Regions from separate parts of the Homo sapiens genome. Here all the other regions are linked to region 2. The links are contacts of gene promoters, found by promoter capture Hi-C in human tissues and cell types (Jung and others, 2019). All regions are on one chromosome and are shown on one strand. The core of a region is centred on a gene start or on the middle of the fragment in contact, and the rest is flanking DNA. Distances in the headings are between cores, read along the strand shown. Region 1 has its middle 32 kb from the start of CD36. Region 2 holds the start of GNAI1 (G protein subunit alpha i1). Region 3 has its middle 80 kb from the start of GNAT3.

Evidence for each region. Contacts are between HindIII fragments. The study calls those that stand out against the background at their distance.
Region 1: a fragment that was not itself captured here is called in contact with the fragment with the promoter of GNAI1 in region 2 in 3 of the 25 tissues and cell types used here (IMR-90 fibroblasts, aorta and mesenchymal stem cells).
Region 3: a fragment that was not itself captured here is called in contact with the fragment with the promoter of GNAI1 in region 2 in 3 of the 25 tissues and cell types used here (IMR-90 fibroblasts, lymphoblastoid cells and mesendoderm cells).

Annotation. Positions count from the first base shown.
Region 1 is chr7:80,605,732-80,608,431 of GRCh38, reverse strand. It overlaps a transcript of CD36 not described here. Among named protein-coding and RNA genes, the nearest start is that of CD36, 32 kb to the left of the region's middle. The HindIII fragment of the contact is 5,690 bases long and covers 1-2,700 here.
Region 2 is chr7:80,133,549-80,136,248 of GRCh38, reverse strand. It overlaps GNAI1 (G protein subunit alpha i1), which reads right to left and starts at 1,418. Exons shown (of 8, transcript NM_002069.6): 1 at 971-1,418. The coding sequence starts at 1,088. The HindIII fragment of the contact is 3,503 bases long and covers 1,226-2,700 here.
Region 3 is chr7:80,430,574-80,433,273 of GRCh38, reverse strand. No RefSeq gene overlaps it. Among named protein-coding and RNA genes, the nearest start is that of GNAT3, 80 kb to the left of the region's middle. The HindIII fragment of the contact is 5,075 bases long and covers 1-2,700 here.

The DNA of each region.
Region 1 (2,700 bases), core at 133-2,632, 470 kb before region 2:
GGAAGCAGAGGTACAAAGAAGTTTACTAACTTGCCAGAGGTCACAGAGCTGGAAAGTTAGAGATCTAAGTTTCAAACATATGCAGTCTAACACTAGAGAGTATGCCTCAACCAGTAATTTACTTCTCATTAAATACTAGGCACTTTGCATAATTATTTTTAGAGTGCTTTGCAGGTACCACATAGATAATAAATAGCTATTAAAATTTAACCATTTTATTTTAAAATAATTTGCAGGGGATATGTTATATGCATATATATTATTGAATGCTGGGATAAATTCAAGCCTAGTAAAAGACACTCATTTGGGGATTATAATTTAATTTTGAACATAAAAATGTACATCTTGAATCAGAACACATTAACAAGGTTATATGGCTCACGCCTGTAATCCCAGCACTTTGAGAGGCCGAGGCGGGCGGATCACGAGGTCAGGAGATGCAGACCATCCGGGCTAACACAGTGAAACCCCATGTCTACCAAAAATACAGAAAATTAGCTGGGCGAGGCAGCAGGCACCTGTAGTCCCAGCACTCGGGAGGATGAGGCAGGAGAATCGCTTGAACCTGGGAGGAGGAGGTTGCAGTGAGCCGAAATTGCACCACCGTACTCCAGCCTGGGCGACAGAGTGAGACTCAGTCTCAACAATGACAACAACAACAACAACAAAAAGAGTTTAGATACTTTCAGCTTGAGAACTTGACCTACTGGCATGGAGATACATGGGTCTGAAGTTGAGAAGAGTGATTGGAGCCCTAAGATGTAGATTGGGGTCTCCTCAACATTCAGATTACAGGTGAAGTCATGAAAATTGATAATATCACTTAGAAAGTGGGGGATGGGGAATGGGAACCTAGAAAATCTGCAGAAATGGAAACTGAGGAAAGCAATATGGCTAGACAAAGGCATAAAAGGTCACTAACTTCTACAAGCCTCCATGTCCTTATTTGTAAAAAATCAGTAGATCTTAGTTTTAGAGTGTGCTAAAAACTATCCCCACTTCTCCTATTTGTAGCTTTTGCTATGAAAAAAATGTAAACTTTGGCAGAGCAGCTGAAAGTAGACGTCCAGCCCTAAGCCTCAGAAAAAAAGAAAAGGCAAGCTTCATAGCTGTTGCTTTGCCATGGTAAATAATTAAGTGCTTTTCTTTTTCTTCTTTTTTTCAAAGGACCATTCAGATTGTTTCAGTTGCTTTTATTTATTCTACAGGATTTCAGCTTCAGAAACTCTCTTGCTGTTACTATGTACAGAAGTTTTGCATGGGAGAGTTGACAGAACAAAATGCTACCTTTAATACTCAAGAGGAATATTAATGGAGTGGAGAAGATAATGGGAGGAATTATAGTAAGCATCCTGTTTGCCTCTTAATAATAGGATTTATTTTTCACTTTGTTTAATCCTGTGTTTCCCAACTTCAGCTGGTAAACCATATAGAATTTTGTTGAATGATTATAACAGAGCTGCAGTACAAGGATAAAATACACAAAGATTGGAAGACTGAAGGGGAAGGAACATTCAAGCAGCTGTCTAGGTCAGAAAGGAACTAAGGGATGGAGAAAGAAAATGGGTGATGCCTGTACTTTTACCACCAGCTGGTAACCATCCCCCAATTTCAGAGAGGGTTTTGAGGGGATACGTGACTAGGCTAGCAAAGAACAGTACTGTGCATGCTGTGGTTGTTCATGAAGTGAAAAGTGGAGAAATCACAACCCTTTCCTGGAGGAAAGATTAGCAAATCTCCAAGATGACCCTCGGACCCAGAGTGAAATGGACTGAGCTAAATGTTTCTCTCTGGCTTCATCCAAAACTCAGTACATGCGGCAAAGACATCTAAGAGACTGAGCACAGTAGCAAGCACATCTAAGTTTTGCATGCAGACTGGGGAAAAGGACTAGGACATCATTGAGAGGCATTAGGTGAAATGAATGAGCTTCATGAATTGATTCACTGAGACATTCTCAGCATCTGTGAGTTTATATATTTAGCGTCTTGTAAATTATAGAATATTTCTCTATTAAATCCCATAATTCATTTTGTGAGTAGAGGATCTGTCCTATATTGTAAAAATAAACAAACCCAGCCAGACATGCTGGGAAGAACAGCAGTAGTAACATTCCATTAAACTACCTACCTGAGAATTTAATACAAAAAAAAAAGTTGCACAGATCTACGTATTATGTTACAGTAGAGCTCTACATCAATTTGGATATTTTTAGAAAAAGTGCTAAACATAAGAAAGAAATGTATCTAAGTTATTTACGTGATTCAAAATTCTTAAAATTTTAGTCATAGTCCTTAGTAGAAGATGAATATTTTGATTTAGGAAATATTTAGACAATATTTTAAATAAATGAATAAAATCTCTCTATTGAGTGCTTATTATGTATGAGTCAGGTACTGGGACATTGCTGTTACTAACACAAGTAGTTACAAATGGAATAGCTCCATTACCTTTATGGAGTTTATATGCCGGCAAGATGCTCCAACTCTAGGCAATAGCAAAGGTCTGTAAGGAATGCTCTTATCCCTGTATATTAAGCTTATCACAGCTCATACCTTTCTGCACTGTAATTCTTTGTCTATGCATCTGCTTAGATGTACCTATTGCCCAAACAGCTCTTAAAAGGATGGGGCTAATAGAAATTAAAGGTCTTCCCAGGAGACCAAGATAAAATCAAGACTAGTATTTATTCCCCATTTC
Region 2 (2,700 bases), core at 169-2,668:
ACAAAAGAAAACCCTAACTCACGAATCTTAACCTGTAAAGATTTTCCTAATGCTTCCCTCAGTGAAAACCCTGGTTTACTCTTTATTTTCTTCCCCGTCAAACATTTGGAAAAGACCTCCACGTAGCGTTTCACGAACAGAACAGTGCTAAGAACAAATAAAAGCCTTGCGTGTACCTGGCAAATCTCATTCATCAGAAACGGTGGCAGCGGAGACAGAACCCTGTTGTCTGGCGTGACCCTCTCGCTCTTTCACAGCAGTTTTCACCACTCGAGTATCTGCCTTGCCTACTACTAAAGCAAAGCTTCCCAACCCCACTTGGGTGGCTTCCATGCCCCCACAGCAAGAAAAATCAAGCATCCAGCGCAGCCTTTTCTCAGCGCAGGGGGAATGTAATCAGCGCTCCTTGACCACTTAAGGAGTCGCCATAGGAAGTTAACAGGAAAGACGCTTCAGCCCCATCTCAGAGGCCCCACAAAAGGTGCACTGATTTCACCAAACGTGGCACTCTGGGCATGAGAAAACCACAGTCGAAACACAACCTACACCGCACACGAAGAAGGGTTTTCCGGGAGGGGGTTGGTGGCGCGGGGGGGGGGGTGTTTTCATTTTCTAGCCGCGAATGCCCCTTCATCTTTACAAGGCTGAGCTAAACTTCAAAGCAAAGGGTTTCCACGCGACCCGCCGCCTCGGACTCGCGCCTGGGCTCTTTGCTGGGTCGCACGAAAGCATCCGAGTGAAGTGACGCGCCCGCCCCGCCGCGGGGAGTCCTCGCCCGCCGGGGCGGAGAGAGACCAGACACCGGGAGAGGGGGACCCGCCTTGCCTCCGCACCGCCGGACCCAGCTCCCGCTCAGAAGCCTCCTCGGGCGCTTCCTCCCCCTTCCCTCCGGGTTTCCAAACGCCGAGGGCCGCGCAGCGCCGCACCCGGTCCCCCGCCGACCCCCGGGCCCCGACCCGGCCGCCCTTACCGAGCAGCAGCAGCTTGACCTCGCGCGCCGCCTTCTCGCCGTCCTCACGGAGGTTGCGGTCGATCATCTTACTCCGCTCCACCGCCGCCTTGTCCTCGGCGCTCAGCGTGCAGCCCATGGTGCCGAAAGCGAGAGCCTGCCGCCGCTCCCTCCGCGCCCGAGTGCGGGCTCCAAGCACAGGGGAATCCTTTCTCTCTCCTAGCGGGCGTTCGAACGCCTCCCGACGGGGGCCACGCCGCCCCCACCACTTCCTAAGCGGAGTCGAGGGAGACGCTGTCCGCAAAGGGGCAGACAGCAACGGGCGGCTGTTCCTCACGACCAGGCTCTGCTTCCCGGCCCGGCTCAGCGCCCCCAAGTCCCGGGTTTGGGGTTTTGAATCTCTGGGTACAGTGGCCGCTGCACTCCCGCCGGTGGCCGCGCCGCAGCCTCGCCAAGCCCAGCCGAGCTCGGCCTCCGCGCGCCGCCGCGGCCCCGCCCCTGCCCGCCCCTCCCACCACCCCGCGACCACTCCCAGAGCGCGCGCCCGCGCACGTGCCCTCGGACAGCGCCCCCCGGCCCCGGACCCCGGCGCCGCGCCACCACTGAGGGCCTGGCGCCCCCTGGCAGCGTCCCCGGGGCGCGCCACTGCCCCGCGGGGCTGTGGCCTTCTGCCCTGGGCGGGAGTGGGGTAATTTCTTTCCGTTTACTCACACGGAGGGAGCTGTGCGTACCTGCCCCTTCGGGTGGGGGTGGGAGAGCTGCCAAAGTTGCCGAAAAAAGCCAGTTCTGGGCGTTTGAGCATGCCCAGCGCCGGCAGCCACGCAAGGTTTTTCAAAATGCAAATCCCTGTCGGCTGGTTTCAGGGCCGTGAGAAACAGGGAACTGGGGAAGGAATGGAGCCTGGTGAAACCAGAGATGGGCACAGTGGAGAACAGGAAAGTCGGGGGAGGGGACTAGAAAAGGGCACCAAGGTCACTTTCTTCCTACCTTTTGCTTCTCTTTCCTTCTTCCTATCCCTCCCTCTTTCCTTGCACTCTCACGTTTTTCACAAGAACGCATTTTGAAGGATTTCCTCGTAACCTAAAAAAAATGGAAGACAAATAATCAAAAGTATTTTTAAATGACAAGAGCAATAAAACACACCCACACAAGCCAATCTCCACATCGTAGCAGATCTCCTCTAGAGCAGCACATAAGCTTCCATGCCAAATTTGGAGCCAATATTTATGACCGTGTTTGTAACTCCTGTACCATTGGGCATGCCATTTTTACAGGCCTTAGCTTCTTTGCCCATAAAATGAGGAGTGGATCTATGGTGCTATCTCCCCATCCTTCCAGCTGTAACAATCGGCGGAGATAAGTTCCTGTGGCCCGCGGGAGGCATTGCTACTCAGCACCCAATGAATGAGCAGAGGCTTAAGATCTCATCTCTCCCTGTCAGTTGCACTACACCTTTCCCCTACAGATATCACAGGAAGCGTTAACTGATTAGAAAATGGGGCTGGTAGCAAGGAAAAACATGGTCCTTGATGTACTAAAAATTGGAACATGCTCCCTGGTTTTCATCTGGAAATCTTATTCTCTAAAAATCATTTGGGAAAACTGGGCTTGAGTTTTCCAAGGTGAGGCTGAACTGATGATACAAGCAGAATAGCTTTCGAGTAGGTCACTGAGACCACGCTTGTGAGCTAGCAGAGACTGAGTTGCCTCCTTATGGGACATGTCCTTTCCTGTTCTCCTATGGGAGTCAC
Region 3 (2,700 bases), core at 35-2,534, 300 kb before region 2:
CAGGTTTGCTTGGTCTATGTGGGCCTGGAAATTCTAGTAAATCTATTTGCTCAATAGGGTTTCCTATCTATTATTCATCATGGGTCTCTCCTATTTTGGAGAAATACTTAAAAATCATGGATATTTTCATGCTGTCAATATCTAGGATTCATTTGGCCTAAGAAAAGCTGAAAGCTGTGTAGTTTGACAAAAGACTTGCCAAGAAAGTTAAATATATCTAGTTCTCCTTTTCCCATGTTTGACATTTCCATGGAGGAAGGGAGACAAGGAAAGAAGTTGCAAATATATTAGCATTCTTTCTGTTTTTCTCTGCCTGATATACTCCATGGAATCAATCTTGTGTGTACATTTAGGGAAAAAGTCTTTACATGATTACAATAAGCCAGATCTCCCTTCTTCCTTTTTTGCCTCTTCACTCTCCCTCACTGAAAACCTCTGATTTAAAGGCAGGAAAGCTTTAAAAATGTACACACTTTGGGATTCAGCCCTGTTGCTGGCATGTGTCAATAGTTCATTCTTTTTATTACTGTGCAATATTCCATTGTATTGATATGCCATAATTTATTTATCCATGCACATACTGATTGACATTTGAGTTGTTTCAAGTTTGGGGCTATTACAAATAAAGCTGCTATGAATATCCATGTAAAAGTATTGGCGTGACATGTTTTCACTTATCTTGAGTAAATGCTCTGGAGTGGAGTGACTGGGTCATATGACAGGTGTATCTAACTTTTGAAGAAATGGTCAAACTGTTTCCCAAAGCGGCTGTACCATTTTACATTCCCACACCCATGTATGAAAATTTCAGTTGCTTCACCCTGCCAACACATGGTTTGGTCATCAACCTTTTACATTTTATTAATTCAAATAAGCATATATTACTCTCATTGTAGTTTTAGTTTTCATTTCCCTGATGACTACAAACATTGAAATTTTCATCTGCTTATTCACCATTCTTATACCTTCTACAAATTGTGTGAGTCCACTTACAAATTCTTGTGAAGAAAGTGGTAATGACTGAAAGCAAGTTAGTGATTGCCTTGGGACAAGGCAGAAGAAGGGATGAGTTGCAAGGGGCACAAGGAAACTTTTCAGAGTTATGGAAATTCTTGTTATCCTTATTAAGGTGAGGGTTACACAGACATATACAGATGTCACAGCAAATTAAATTATATACTTTAAATATATGCAGCTTATTGTATTTCAATTCAATTACACCTCAACTAAATTATAAAAAATCCAAAAACTTTATTAGAAGTAAACCAAAAGCAAAATTCTAAGCCTCCCAACCAACTGAACAGACTCCTCCTCACAGCCAAAGGCATTCTAAAGTTAATTTGAAAAACTAGTTCAGGCCATGATGGGAAATGAGGGTCTGACATGCCTCATTATACCCTTCTCCCTTTGGAATTCAAGCACAGTTGACCAACATTAACATGAAAACAGAGGCCTTAAGACTGATAGAACAGACTCTTTAAGACTGGTAAGAAATATTCCCTTCCACGGATTCTATCTGCATAATGGGAACCTCGCTGTCCATAAACTCTTATCTCAACCCAGACATTCCTTCCTATTGATTTTAGTCAATAACTTAACTCTTTAAACCAATTGCCAATTAGAAAATTCTTGAATCCACCTATGACCTGGAAGCCCTTGCTTCGAGTTGTCCTGCCTTTCTGGACTCAACCAATATACATCTTACATGTATTAATTGATGTCTCATATCTCCCTAAAATGTATAAAACCAAGCGGTAGCCCAATCACCCTGAGCACGTGTCAGGACCTCCTGAGGCTGTGTCACTGGTTCCAGGTGAGGTGTCAGAGCCTCAGCAACAGAAAATGGTTAATCACAGGTAGTAAGAAGAATTTACCAACGATGTTATTGGCAGTGAATCCATACAGGTCTGCAGCAACCTCAATTCTTGCTCCTCAGAAGAAAGAATTTGACTGAGGGGCATAAGGTAGAAGGAGAGACTGAGGCAAGTTTTAGAGTAGGAGTGAAAGTTTATTAAAAAGTTTAGAACAGGAACGAAAGTATACTTGAAAGAGGGCTGAGCAGGTGAGTTGAGAGAGTCAAGGGCCCTGTATGACCTTTGACTTGGGGTTTTATATGTTGGCATTCATCTGGGGTCATGTGTCCCTTCTCCCCTGATTCTTCCCTTTGGGTGGGCTGTCCACATGCACAGTGTCCTGCCAGCACTTGGGAGAGGAGCATGCACAGTGTTTTTAGTGAAACTATATGCATGCTCATTTGAGGCGTTCTTCCCTTACCAGCTGAATATCACTAGAAGGCCATACACCAGTTAAACTCTACCATTTTGCCTCTTAATGTGTGTGCTTGAGCCCACTTGCCTAACTCCTAAGATCTTATCAGGAAGCTGCTGATCCCTAGTTTCAGGTTTTTTGTGTTAATTGGGAGACTGCCTTTTCCTGGTGTTGGCTGTGGCCAATTATCTTAGAGAGACAGGTAACAACCACTTCACCATCACTTGATGGTCACCTGACATTTCTGGTGGGGGGTAGGGGGGCTCCCTCTCCTGCGGTGCTCATGTCTGACTAGCTACCTACTCTAACAATAAAATATATAAAACTCATGTTTGGTTGCTAAACTGAAGGAAGTCACAATTTATTACCGCAGAATATATTTCTTGGATGTATTTTGAAATGGCTGCCACAGGGCCAGCAGACTGAAGTGGC